2 separate regions of the Homo sapiens genome follow, and region 1 is linked to region 2. The links are contacts of gene promoters, found by promoter capture Hi-C in blood cells and fetal thymus (Javierre and others, 2016). All regions are on one chromosome and are shown on one strand. Each heading gives the region's core, a stretch centred on a gene start or on the middle of the fragment in contact. The rest is flanking DNA. Distances are from core to core; before and after follow the strand shown. Region 1 overlaps LOC105369400 (a long non-coding RNA gene). Region 2 holds the start of AQP11 (aquaporin 11).

Region 1 (6,687 bases), core at 1,842-4,341, 530 kb after region 2:
TTTCAAGTGCATCCTTCTCTGAAACACTGCTTATATTTTGTTACTATCCTGGATATTATTAAAAACCAGTCAGACCAAGGGGATTTATTCCAAGAATGCAAGGTTGATTTTTTTTTTTGAGACAGAGTTTTGCTCTTGTCACCAAGGCTGGAGTGCAGTGGCGTGATCTCAGCTCACTGCATGCAACCTTCACCTCCCGGGTTCAAGCGATTCTCCTGCCTCAACCTCCAGAGTAGCTTTAATATTAGAAAAATCCATCCATTAATAACATTGCTTTAGTTTCCTAGGGCTGCCATAATGACAAGCTGGGCGGCTTAAACCACAGAAATGTATTGTCTCAGTCCTGGAGGCTAGAAGTTCAAGATAAAGGTATCCCTAATTCTGATAAAGGTATCATCAGGGTCAATTCCTTCTATGGGATCCAATTCAATGTACAACAAGCATGTACCATATGAATGAACCTAAGGATAGAATAATATGCTCATTTATTTCCCTATAAATGCTAAGAAATGGGTATTTGATCAATACCCATTCATGATCAGAACACTCAGTGAAATAGGAATTGAGGGATACTTTCTCAATATGATAAGATATAGTCCTATAAACCAGCATCTTATTTAATCAAGAGACACTGGAAGCATTTCCACTAAGATCAAGAACATCACAAGGGCCAGGCACAGTGGTTCATGCCTGCAATCCCAACACTTTGGGAGACTGCTATGAGAGGATTGCATGAGGCCAGGAGTTTGAGGCCAGCCTAGGTGACAAAACGAGACCCCATCTCTACAAAACAAAATACAAAAAAAAAAAAAAAAAAAAAGCCAGGTTTGGTGGCATTTGCCTGTAGCTCCAGCTACTCAAAAGGCTGAGGTGGGAGGATCCCTTGGGCACAGGAGGTTGAGGCTGCAGTGAGCCCTGATTATGCCATGACCTCCAGCCTGGGTGACAGAGTCAGACCTTGACTCTAAAAAAAAAAAAAAAAAAAGAGAAAGAAAGAAAGAAGAGAAACATGGCAAGGATGCCATTATCTCCACTACTATTCCACATTGTACTAGATGTATTAGCCAATGCAATTAGACAAGATAAATCAATTGGAGGTCTAAGAATGGTAAAGAAGAAGGAGAACTATTTCTATTTACATACGGCATAATATACCTGAAGAACCCCAGAGAATCAATGATAAAACTAATTCAAATAGTAAAGGAGTTCAGTGAAGTAGCAGGATACAAAATTAACATGTAAAATATAATGGCCTTTATGTATAAACCTATATGAGGATTTTTTTTTTTTTTTTTTTTAAACAGAGTTTCACTCTGTCGCCAGGCTGGAGTGCAGTAGCGCAATCTCAGCTCACTTCCGCCTCCTGGGTTCAAGTGATTCTTGTGTCTCAGCCTCCTTAGTAGATGGAATTACAGGTGTGCATCACCACACCTGGCTAATTTTCTTATTTTTAGTAGAGATGGGGTTTCACCATGTTGGCCAGGCTGGTCTCAAACCCCTGAACTCAGGTGATCTGCCCACCTTGGCCTCCCAAAGTGCTGGGATTATAGGCGTAAGCCATCACGCCTGGCCATGATGAAATTTTTAGAACATTTTTGAAAGACACGAAAGGAAAACAAACAGAAAAATATCCCTTTGTTTGCACAGGAAAAGTCAACATTGTAATGGTGTTAGTCCTCCCTAAGTTAATGTTAAACTCCATGTAATCCCAATAAAAGAAACAGCAAGGTATTTTATGAAGATAGACATGTTGATACAAAAGTTCACATAGAAAAATAAACTTGCAAGAACAGATAAGAAGACATTGGAAAAGAAAAACCATGAGAGAAAACTAGACTTGCCAGACATTAAAAAAAAAATTAAAAAAAAGCTTCTGTAATTAAAACTGGGATGGTTCTGGTACATGAATAGATAAATTGGAATAGACTAGAAAATCTAGGATTAGACCCAAAACATCTTTACCCCACTAATTTGAGATGTTGCCTTTGCTACACACTAAACATAGACTTTGCAATAGATAATGCCGGGACAACTGGGAGCCATTTGGAAAAAGATAAAATTAAATCCATATGTTACACTGTCATATTTTGTGTTGTGTTGCTGCAAAGGAATACCTGAGACTGGGTGATTTATAAAGAAAAAAGGTTTATTTGGCCCATAATTCTGATGGTTGGAAAGTTCAAGACTGGGCATCTGGTGAGGGCCTCAGGCTGCTTCCACTCATGGTGGAAGGTGAAGGAGAGCTGATGTGAGCAGATATCACATGGCAAGAGGAGAAGCAAGAGAGAGGGGAGAGGGTGCCAGAATCTTTCAACAAGCAGCTCTCCCAGGAACTAAGAGAGTGAGAAGTCACTCACCCCCAGGGAAGGCATTAATCTATTCATGAGGGACCACCTCCATGAGCCAAACACCTCCCATCAGGCCCCACTCCAACCCTAGAAATCACATTTGAACATGAGCCTCGGAGGGGACAAACATCTAAACCATAGCACACATCCAACAAAAGAATAAACTGAATGGATTAGGGATCTAAGTGTAAAAAACAAAGCCACCTGTCTTAGTCAGCTCGGGCTGCTATAACAAAATACCACAAACCACCAAATCCAATGGTAAAGTGAGGGGAAAGGCACCAACAGGTAACTAACCAAAAAAGATATTAAAATGGCCCTCAAACTTATGAAAAAAATATTCAAGGACACTGGTAATTAGAGCGAGGCAAATCGCTCTACAGTGAGATGCCATTTTTCACTTTTCAGACTGACAATAAAAAAGATCACAACACATTCTGTTCACCAAGTTGTAGGGAAACAGTCACTCACAGCTGTTGCTGGTGGGAATACAATTTGGTACAATTTGGTACAATTCTAGGGGAATTGGTAATACCTAAGAAAATTACATACGCATGTACCCTTTAACCCGAGGCAACTCCACTTCTCGGAATCTACTCAGAACCCATACCTCTGGCAGTATGGAAATACACATGCAAAGCCTTTTTCAGTGACGCGTTCTTTTTAATTGCAAATATTGGAAACAATCTACATACCCACAAGTGGGAGAGTGGTTGAATAAATTGTAGTATATCCAAGCAATGGAGCATTAAGCAGCTGTAAAAGAAAATGAGGAGGAGCACATTGAATTGATAGTGTGAATCCCAGAACACACATGGAGAGAGAAGACAATATAAGAACATACACAGGTGTCTGCTCATCTATGCAGAGAAGTACAAGAAGGAAAGATCAGAAACTGGTGCGATTGGCTACCTACAGGGACAGGTGGAAAGGAGTGGAAAGAACTGTTGAATGGGATAGGATGGCAGGGAAGAGCAGGGAGTGACACTTCTCTGACTATATCTTTTTAATTTTTCTTATTGAGATATCATTTACATGCCATAAAATTCATCCTTTAAAGTATAAAATGCAGTAGTTTTTAGTATATTTACAAAACTGTGCAACCATCACCACTATCTAATTTCAGATTGGGAGTCCTTTCCAGTAACATCTCCACAAGGCACTGCTTGTGGAGATTTGGAAACACTACTGGTCCATTGGATAGAGGAAGCACGCTCCCCATTGGATTCTTCTTTATAATTGGATGGAGGGCTCTAATACAGAGAAACTGGATGCTCTGCTAATCTAGAGGTCGGGATTTTCACCACCCCAATAGAAACCTCATACCCAAGCATTCTCCATTTCCCCCTCCCCTTATCCCCTTATCCCCTGGCAACCTCAAATCCTATCTCAATGGATTTGGCTATTGCAGGTATTTCATATACTGAAATCATACAATATGTGGCCTTTTGAGTCTGGCTTCTTTCTTTCTTTTCTTTTCTTTTTTTTTGCGGGGGGACAGGGTCTCACTCTGTTGCTCAGGTTGGAGTGCAGTCACGTGATGACAGCTCACTGCAGCCTCAAACTCCTGGGCTCAAGCAATCCTCCTGCCTCAGCCTCCTGAATAGGTGGGACTACAGGTGTGTGCCAATGTGCCCAGCTAACTTTTTAATTTTTGTAGAGACAGAGTCATACTCTGTTGCCTAGGCTCATCTCCAGCTCCTGGTCTCAAGTGATCCTCCTGCCTTGGCCTTCCAAAGTCTAGCTTCTTTCACTTAGCATAATGTTTGCAAGGTCCATCTATGTTGTAGCATGGATCTGTACTTCATTCTTTTTTAGGGCTGGATAATATTCCATTGTATGAATATACCACATTTTGTTTATTCATTCATCTGTTGACAGACATTTGGGATTTTTCCACTCTTTGGCTACTGTGAATAATGCTTTGAATATTCATGTGCAAGGTTTTTTTTGAGACAAGCTTTCACTCTGTGGCCCAGGCTGGAGTGCAGTGGTGTGATCACGGCTCATTGCAGCCTCGACTTCTCAGGCTCAACTGATTCTCACACCTCAGCCTCCCTAATAGCTGGGACTACAGGCATGCATCCCCATGCCCGGCTAATTTTTATTTTTATTTTTTTGTGGAGATGGAGTCTCACTGTGTAACCCAGGCTGCATGTGCAAGATTTGGAGTGGACATCTGTCTTCAGCTCTCTCGGGTATATGTCTGGGAGTGGACTTCCTGGGTCATAGGGTAACTCCATGTTTAACTTTTTGAGGAACTGCCAGACTGTTTTCCCAAGTGCTAGGAGTGTCCACCTAAATCCTCCTGCCAGGCCCTGCAAGCTCCTGATGTAGCCCCGCGACCCTGGGAGTGAGAAAATCCCGCCCAAGACCCCAGCCAGTGGAGAGAACTGGAGCCAAGCCGGCACCTGGGGCTGCTGCCTGCATATTGCCAAAGAGGGGCCTGTGGGTCCCCAGGGTCCCTGGATTCTCCAGCGTCCTACAGGCCAGCAGCAGCTGGCAGGGTTCAAGAGTAAGGGTGGGCAGGAGGGGTGCCTGCGTCCTCCCTGTGCAATCTGGGGCCCAGAGGCAGCGGCACCTGCCCCCACCCTGCCCCTAGGCTGATATGTGTACATCTGCCCCCACTCCCCAGCTGATGGAGCTCTGACTGATTCTGCTCTGGGTTCCCAGTTCTAAAACTGCCTTCGCAAAAATTATAACAGTGAGAAAATTATGCCAGTAAAAGAGATCTGACCTAACTGACTCCACCTTGCTTCTAACCTCCCAGCTACCCTTGTTCATTTTGGGGTGTAAGAACTAATTTTGGGAGATAGTTATAGTTTAACTTTGAAACAAAGGTAACAATAGCCCTTTCCCAAAAGAAACTTCCTTTTGCCTGGGGACCAGACTGCCTTTGTAGGACTAATAAATTAGCCACAAGATTAGAAATTATGGTTTAGAAGTCAGCTGGGAGCGGTGGCTCCTGCCAGTAATGCCAGCACTTTGGATGGCTGAAGTAGGTGGACTGCTTGAGGGCATGAGTTTGAAACCACCCTGGCCAACATGGTGTAACCCTGTCTCTGCTAAAAATACAAAAAGCACCCAAGCGTGTTGCCACACGCCTGTAGTCCCAGCTACTCAGGAGGCTGAGGCAGGAGAATCACTTGAACCCAGGAGGTGGAGGTTGCAGTGAGCCAAGATCATGCCACTGCATTCCAGCCTGGGCAACAGAGCAAGACCCTGTCTCAAAAAAAAAAAGAAAAAGAAATTTATGGTTTAGGAGACATGTAGCCAGAGGCTACAAGATTCTACACCTCCCCAGTTACTCCTAGGGATAACATCACTATTGTAAAACCTAAGACTGGTGCTGAAAATATTTTTCAGCCCCTGCACTCGATGGATCAGGCATCACCCAAATGGATAAACTGGCTCATCATGTCTTGTGGCCCCCACCCAGAGACTGACTCAGTGCTAAAGGATGGCTTTGACTCACTGTGATTTCATCTCTAACCCAATCAATAATCACTCCCTACTCTCTTGCCCCCTACCCACCAAATTATTCTTAAAAAACCCCATTCTCCAAGTTTTCAGAGAGACTGACTTGAGTAATAATAAGACACCGGTCTTCTGTTCAGCTGGCTCTGTGTGAATTAACCTCTTTCTCTATTGCAATGCCCTTGTCTTGATAAATTGGCTCTATCTGGGCAGTGGGCAAAATGATCTTGTTGGGAGGTTACAAATTAGCACCGAGGAGGCAGGGTGGGGGTGGGGGGCATATGGCTGAATTGGGTGTGCAAGGGGTCCTGGCTGAGCCTTAAGATATTTAGGCCCAGAAGAGGGGTAGATCTGGTGTCCCCTTGGATGTGGGGACAGGAACCCATTTGCTAGGAAGCTTTGGTTTCACCTGAAGGTTTCAAGTACTCTGGCACCTAGAGGGGCCCCAAAGTGTGGGAAGGAGCCCCTGCCCCACCACATCTGGCCCTTGGGCTCCCATTTGAACAGGGATTGGGTGGGGGCTGCTAGCAGGAGTCTCAGGCCACCCAGACAGCTGTGCCCCAACCCCAAGAGTTTAGGGGCAGGAGGCTCCCTTTTCCCCACTTCTGTGTAGAGCCCAGTATTGCTCAGCAGGGGCAGGGCAGTGCTTCAGAACACTTCAGCCTGGACCCAGCAGTGAGGACGGAGGGGATAAAGGAAGGGGACATAGGAAGGGGCCTGGCTGACACCTGGCGCAGAGCATTCAGACAACACTCAGAGCCCTCACCTCACCTGCATGCTGGGAAGCTATGGGAGAGATGGGGTAGGGTCAGAGGCAGTTGGGGCGTGGAGAACTCTCCATGCCCCTAGGTGCTTCCACAGG
Region 2 (7,113 bases), core at 3,813-6,312:
TCTCTCTCAAACTGTTCATTGAACTAAATTCTTCCAGAACCCAAAGTAAGGAAGATTTGCTTGAAATCTGATTAACAGTTTATAGCTCTAATATGTTAATAAATCGCACAGCTTTTTTTTTTTTTACACGATTAGGGGAGCCAGTTAATACACGATAAATGGCAATGACATAACTGGGGCTCCATGTGCCATCAAAATTTGGGGTGCTAAATCAATAAATACACAGACACTTGGTCACTGGCTATCCTTAGGAGCCTGTGGCTATGTTGCTGGATGCTTATGTTCTGTAATCCTAAAATACATAAGTTATTTTGATGTACCCTGTATTGGTGACTTCTCAGTGCCCTCAAAATGCAAGTGATTAAAGAAATCTCCCAAGGTGCACCTTTGTCAAATCTGTACTTGTAGTATCCTAGAAGCTTAAAAAAGACATATCATAATAACTTGTAATGATGCCTGACTTAGCCAACTGTCCCAAGACAGTCCTATTTGTAACAACTCTGTTCCAAAGTTATGACTTATAGCCATAGAAAATAAAAGGGAGAGATGGGACTTAGTGCAGCATTTCCCAAAGTATGTTCTCTTCTGCTACACACTCCTAGACAAGAGGATCTCGTAAGTTTGAAAAACTGTGCTCCAAATCCTCCTCTTGGAGTTTCACAATACTTAGAAGCATAGTAAAGGCTCTATGAAGTCTTAAAATTAGAAAACCTGTTTAATCCAGTGTCTGCCAAATTTATTTGGCAACAACATCATTTTGTAACTTAAAAATTGTATAAATTATGGTGAAATATATATATACCATAAAGTATGCCATTTTAGCCATTTTTAAGTGTATAAGTCATTGGTGTTACATTCACCATGCTGTTTCACCAGCAGCACCATTTCCAAAGGTTTTCATAACATAAACAGAAACTTTGTACCCATTAAACAATAAGTCCCCATTCCTCCCTCCTCCCCACAGTCCCTGGTAACTCTATTCTACTTTCTGTCTCTATGAAGTTGCCTAATCTAGATATTTTGTATATGTAGAGCCATACAGTATTTGTCTTTTTGTGTCTGGCTTATTTTGCTTGGCATATTGTTTTTGAGGTTCATTCATGTTGTAGTATACATCATAACTTCATTCCTTTTTATGGCTGAATATATTCAATTGTGTATAGTTTTGTTAACTTTTGAGGAGCACACTGTGGAAATGCTGATAATGAATCCGTATGAGCTTTAGTGCCAGTTGGAACCATAGTTCTAACACAGTCTAGTTATGTAAGCTTAGATAAGTCATTTCACTTTTCTGGGCCTCACTTACTTTACTTAAAATGGGAAGAATATATTCATCGATGGGTTGTTTTTTTTTGTTTTTGTTTTTTTTTGAGACGGAGTCTCGCTCTCTCGCTCTGTCTCCCAGGCTGGAGTGCAATGACTCGATCTCGGCTCACTGCAAGCTCTGCCTCCCGGGTTCATGCCATTCTCCTGCCTCAGCCTCCCCAGTAGCTGGGACTACAGGCACCCGCCACCATGCCTGGCTAATTTTTTTGTATTTTTTAGTAGAGACGGGGTTTCACCGTGTTAGCCAGGATAGTCTCGATCACCTGACCTCGTGATCTGCCCGCCTCGGCCTCCCAAAGTGCTGGGATTACAGGCGTGAGCCACCGCGCCCGGCCGATGGGTTGTTGTAAGAATTAATTAAGATAACTCTCATAAATTTCCTTGCAAAATGCTTGGCCTATAACAGCTGACAACTGAATATTCTTATCTCCCTTATATTGGCAGAAAACAAACAAAGGGAAGATCATACTGCATTATAAATTTCTGTAACTAATAGTAATCAACAATTGTCTATTTTGTTCTACCCATGCAAACAGACTCTAGCACTGTCCAATCCTGTACCCACTAGCTACAGCACAATTTGACAACTGACCACTTGAAATGTGGCTACTCTGAATCTAATTTCAGTTAATTTAAGTGTAAACAGCCACATGCAGCTAGTGGCTACTGAATTGCACAGTGCAGGTCTAGACTCCTAAAGCAGTGCTTCTTTACCTTGGTTTCATAATGGGATCACCTGTGAAGCTTTACAATACACCGCTGCCTAGGCCCCTTGCCAGAGCAATTGGATTTTAATCTGTGGGCCCAGAACAAGGACGTTTAAAGAGCTCCCCAGGTGATTTTAATACAGAGAGAAACACTGCTCTAGTGTTCCCTTTATACTCTCCCTCTCCCCCATCAATTAGTACCCTCATTTCAAGAAAAAAAGGGCAGTGTTTTTGATCTGTTGATATTTTATAGATACTTCTAATAACTTTCCTTATATCTATGACTGGATCTATAACTCCAAGTATTATCTGTGTCTCTTCTCTCAAATTTTTTGTCACTGATAAAATAGGGAATGGCTAATATATACAGTATTATCTATGGAATCATAAATATGTATTAAAAGTAGACAGAAAGAATATCAACTTCAGGTTAATCAAGAGAGGGAAGAGGAACATAGGTATTGAAAAATCCAACTGTAGTTAATGTTCTATTGATGTAAAAATTCTTTTTTAAGTTTTTACTGCTTTTAATTGTAGAAATAAAGAGCTAAACCATAGCATAACTCTTTTTGCAGTGACAATTCTGTTCATATACAGGGGATGTTTCTGCTTTAGCTAAAATCTAAAACTTCAATAAATAAGCAACTACCCACCAATCCCTCAAATATGCCTGTACTTGTCACTCTTTTTCTCTTTTTCTTTTTTTTTTTCTTTTGAGACAGACAGGGTCTCTATAACCCAGGCTGGAGTGCAGTGGCACTATCACAGCTCACCACAATCTCAACCTCCTGGACTTGGGTGATCCTCCCACCTTAGCCTCCCAAGTAGTTGGGACTACAAGTGCGCACCAGCACGCCCGGCTAATTTTTGTATTTTTTGGAGAGATGGGATTTCTCTTATGTTGCCCAGGCTAGTCTCGAACGCCTGGGCTCAAGCGATCCACCTGCCTTGGCCTCCCAAAGTGTTGGGATGACAGGTGTGAGCCACCGTGCCCGGCCCCCTTCACTCTTCTATACCACTTATTTCCATTTATGTCTACTTAAAAAGTGGTACTAGACCTAAAGAAGGGGAAATTGATTGGGAAGGCTTGCTTTCTTTCTTTTTTTTGAGACAGAGTCTCACTGTTGTCGCCTGGGCTGGAGTAAAATGGCGCGATCTCAGCTCACTGCAACCTCCGCCTCCCGGGTTCCAGCAATTCTCCCGCCTCAGATTCCCGAGTAGCTGAGATTACAGGCGCCCACCACCATGCCTGGCTAAATTTTTTTTGTATTTTTAGTAGAGACGGGGTTTCACCATGTTGGCGAGGCTGGTCTCAAACTCCTGACCTCAGGTGATCCACCCACCTCGGTCTCCCAAAGTGCTGGGATTACAGGCGTGAGCCACCGCGCCCGGCTGAAGGCTTTCATTTTTACCCTAGAAGGTCAAGTACGTGTTTAGGAGTCCTTATCTTGAAGTTTGCTTCTAGTCATTGTTTCACTTTTAATGGGCAGAAGATTATTACCACAAATTTCCTTTGTTGTTATTTCTGCCTCCACAGTCTTTTATAATTTAGATGTAGTCCCAATAAAGATATTCTGTTGTAATCATTTAAAATGACACATTTCATCATTAAATACTTGTGTTTTGGATTTCCTCCTCCCACTTAGGACTAGATTGCCCACTGCATCTGAGATCTGTCAAAGTAAACAAATGGTTTAAAAGAAATCAACAGATTTCTCAAGAGTTATATTTTAAAAAGCATCTTTAATTTGAAGCAAGTTATCATTTAAACATTTTTCTTAATAGGTCACTTAAAAGTTCATGTATAACTCAAAATGAATTATTAAGGAAATAAGAAATTTCATAACTCAAAATGAATTATTAAGGAAATAAGAAATGACTTTAAATCATTTATAGGACTAAAATGGAACTACAAAATTTCTACCCTCCGCTCTTATACTAACCAATCATGTGCCTTGTGCTTTAAATCGAAAGGAACTTTGTAAAGCCAGGATCATTTTTCAGTAAGAGTATCCGAAACGATCTATACCACCTTGGCATGAAGAAAGAGGCAGTTAATAAGTTATCTTTCCTTTCTACCATTAAAACAATCCCTTTGTAGGATATCTGAACCCTTGGCAATATCTCACAGTATCTCAGTTTCAGCACAGAGGTGGCTCCTTTCTCTGGGTGTTCAAAGCAGCACTGCATGAAGGCTCTACGTGTCGGCCCTACTGGTTAAGAACGGGCTGCAAAATGGTTAGAATAACGGGGATACCAGCATTTACATCATAGCGGGATAGACGGTTTCAAATGTATTTTAGTAAAGAACTTACAGCCTCATGTCATAGAGGCTCTGGAAGTGCCAAGTATTTGGTGAGAATGACAAACCTGCATAGACCAAAAAGGTGATGAGTGCAGCCAGCAGGTGGATACGAAGCTTGGTTCGGACTTCCTGGAAGTGCAGCAGAGCGCTGTGGAAGAGAAAGGAGCAGACGGCCTCTGTGATGACCGCTTTGAGCAAGTCGACTCGGATGGGATTCTTGCAAGCGAAGCTCCTCTCGCTGACGTGATACTGGGTCAGACCCAAGCTCCACAAGGCGCTTGTGCAGTACCTGCTGCACAGGGCACTAACCAGCTGAGCCAATAGCCTCACCGCACCCGTCTCGGGGGACATGCCCCCCAGCATCATCTGCATCATCACGCCGCACGGGTTGCTGGACGTGCCCACCAGAGTCAGGCCATGCACAAGCGAGAAGAAGTAGACGAGCGTCAGCGTCCAGGTGGGGTGCGCGGGGTGCTGTTCGCTCAGCAGTTGCAGCTCGTGGGTGCAGCAGCAGAGCTGGAAGGTGGCTAGAAACTCCAGGACGAAGGCGTGGGCCACCGGCCTGTGCAGCTGCTGCCGGGCGACTACGCGGGCCAGCCCCATGAGCAGCACCACCGACAGCATCAGTCCCAGCGAGGTGCAGGTGTCCTGCAGCTCGGACCGGAGCCCCAGCAGCGGCGACATGGCTCCGTCGCCGCCTGAGCGGGTTGCGGGCTCCGGCTCTGGGTAGGAGGCGGTCTCCAGGCCCGAGTCCGAAGTCCGCAGCCCCTCCCCTCCTCACGCCCCTCGGGGCGGGACGAGCGGGAGGCTCCCGAGCGGCACACTTAAGAAGTCCTCCCCGCCTCCCCGGCTTGGCGCTGGGGTGTTGGAACCAGAGCCGAGGAGGCGGGGAGGCGGGGAGGCGGGGAGGCGCGGGGAGGCGCGGGGAGGCGAAGGGAGGTAGCCTAGGGCGCCGGCCGCAGGGCCAACGGTCAGCCGAGCCCACCGCGCACTCACCCTCCGCAGTCTCCCTCAGGGCCTTGTAGGCGGGCGCGGCGGCGGAGGGCCGGCGCGGCGCGGTCGACGCAGCGCTCTTGGTGCCCACTGCGCACGCGTGCTGCGGCCCTTGCGCCCCTGCGGGCGGTGACACCCGGACCACGGGGCGGAGAGGAGCGGCACGGCGCGGCGGAGCTCTGATGGTTGCTTTGCAGCGAGGACCTTAGAGTTTTTCTTTCCCCGCTCCACACTGTAAAACCGTGGAGCTGGAAAGACCGCTGAAGGCCATCTCACATAGCCACCTCGTTTTTATCAATGGGCGACTGAAATTGAGAGGGGAGACGCGGCGCAGGGGGCGGGTGAGTTAGTGGGCGTAGACCGGTGCGCAGGGCCTCCTGGAGCCTTGCTTTTCTTCACCTGCCAAAAAACATTTCTAAAAATGGTGGTAATATATGCCAGATAAAATTCGCCACTTTAATCAATTTAAGTGTATATTTCAGTGGCATCGATTACCCTCACAGTGTTGTTCAACAGTCACCTCTTTTTTCCAGAACTTGAGCGGTGATTCTTCAAAGTGTAGCCTAGTTTTAGCATGTGACTGTCTATAACCTTTGGCATGAACTCTTTACGTATAATATGAAACAGTTGTGTCTTACTGTTACATGCACTCTTCGTGAAGAGGAAACAACAGGTAACTGGAGAGGTCTGTTTCCAAGAACTGGGGGTCCTGGCGCACCTCTTCCATCTGCTTTGAAAGCAGGAATACGGCTGCGTGAGGTGGAGCGCGTCCGGAGTCCCAGCACGGAGAGGCTTAGGTGGGAAGACCGCTTGACCCCAGGAGTTCCAGGCTGCAGTGAGCTGAGATCGCGCCACTGCACCCCTGCCTGGGCCACAGAGCGAGACGCTGTTTTTAGAAACAAAAACAACAACAAAAACCGGGCGCGGCTGGGCGCGGTGGCTCACGCCTATAATCCCAGCACTTTGGGAGGCCGAGGCGGGCGGATCACCGGAGGTCGGGAGTTCGAGACTAGCCTGACCAACATGAGAAACCCCCGTCTCTACTAAAAATACAAAATTAGCCGGGCATGGTGGCGCATGCCTGTCATCCCAGCTACTCGGGAGGATGATGCAGGAGAATCGCTTGAACCCGGGAGGCAGAGGTTGTGGTGAGCCTAGATCGCGCCATTGTACTCCAGCCTGGGCAACAAGAGCGAAACTCCGTCTCAAAAACAACAACAACAACAACAACAACAACAACAAACCAGTCAAACAAACAAAAAACAAAACATGAAAGCCACTTAGTACAGTTCCCAATACGTAGAAAATATTCACTAAGTGGTAGCTTACAGTGGAAACAGCAGGTTTCAGCAGCCAGAGTGCACGGCTCTTGCCACCGCATTCCAGTCCCAACAGCTTGTCCCCTGGGGTGGCCCATTGTAGGTGCAGCACTTTGGGAGTCCGAGGCAGGCGGATAACGAGGTCAGGAGTTCAAGACCAGCCTGGCCAACATAGTGAAACCCCGTCTCTACTAGAAATACAAAAATTAGCTGGGCATGGTGGTGCGCACATGTAGTCCCAGCTACTCGGGAGGCTGAGGCAAGAGAATCCCTTGAACCCGGGAGGTGGAGGTTGCAGTGAGCCAAGACAGTGCCACTGCACTCCAGTTTGAGCAACAGAGTGAGACTTCGTCTAAAAAAAAAAAAAATTCTTTCACAAGACACAAACTAGTAGAAAATCAAGACCTTTTCTCTTTCCTGTGTTGATTGCCTGGCCAGAAAGAATTTAAATTAGAATTATTTA

The links. The method cuts DNA at HindIII sites, captures the fragments that hold promoters and counts their contacts. A CHiCAGO score of 5 or more calls a contact.
Region 1: a contact is called between a fragment that was not itself captured here and the fragment with the promoter of AQP11 in region 2, in 2 of 17 cell types (erythroblasts and endothelial precursors). The highest score is 5.7, in erythroblasts.

What each region holds. Positions count from the first base shown.
Region 1 is chr11:77,056,318-77,063,004 of GRCh38, reverse strand. LOC105369400 (a long non-coding RNA gene) reads left to right here. Exons shown (of 3, transcript XR_950341.1): 2 at 3,475-3,638; 3 at 4,475-4,604. Among named protein-coding and RNA genes, the nearest start is that of CAPN5, 7.3 kb to the left of the region's middle. The HindIII fragment of the contact is 2,438 bases long and covers 1,873-4,310 here.
Region 2 is chr11:77,587,902-77,595,014 of GRCh38, reverse strand. AQP11 (aquaporin 11) reads right to left here and starts at 5,062. Exons shown (of 3, transcript NM_173039.3): 1 at 4,404-5,062. The coding sequence starts at 5,022. RefSeq lists silencers at 604-804, 5,086-5,715. The HindIII fragment of the contact is 3,851 bases long and covers 4,455-7,113 here.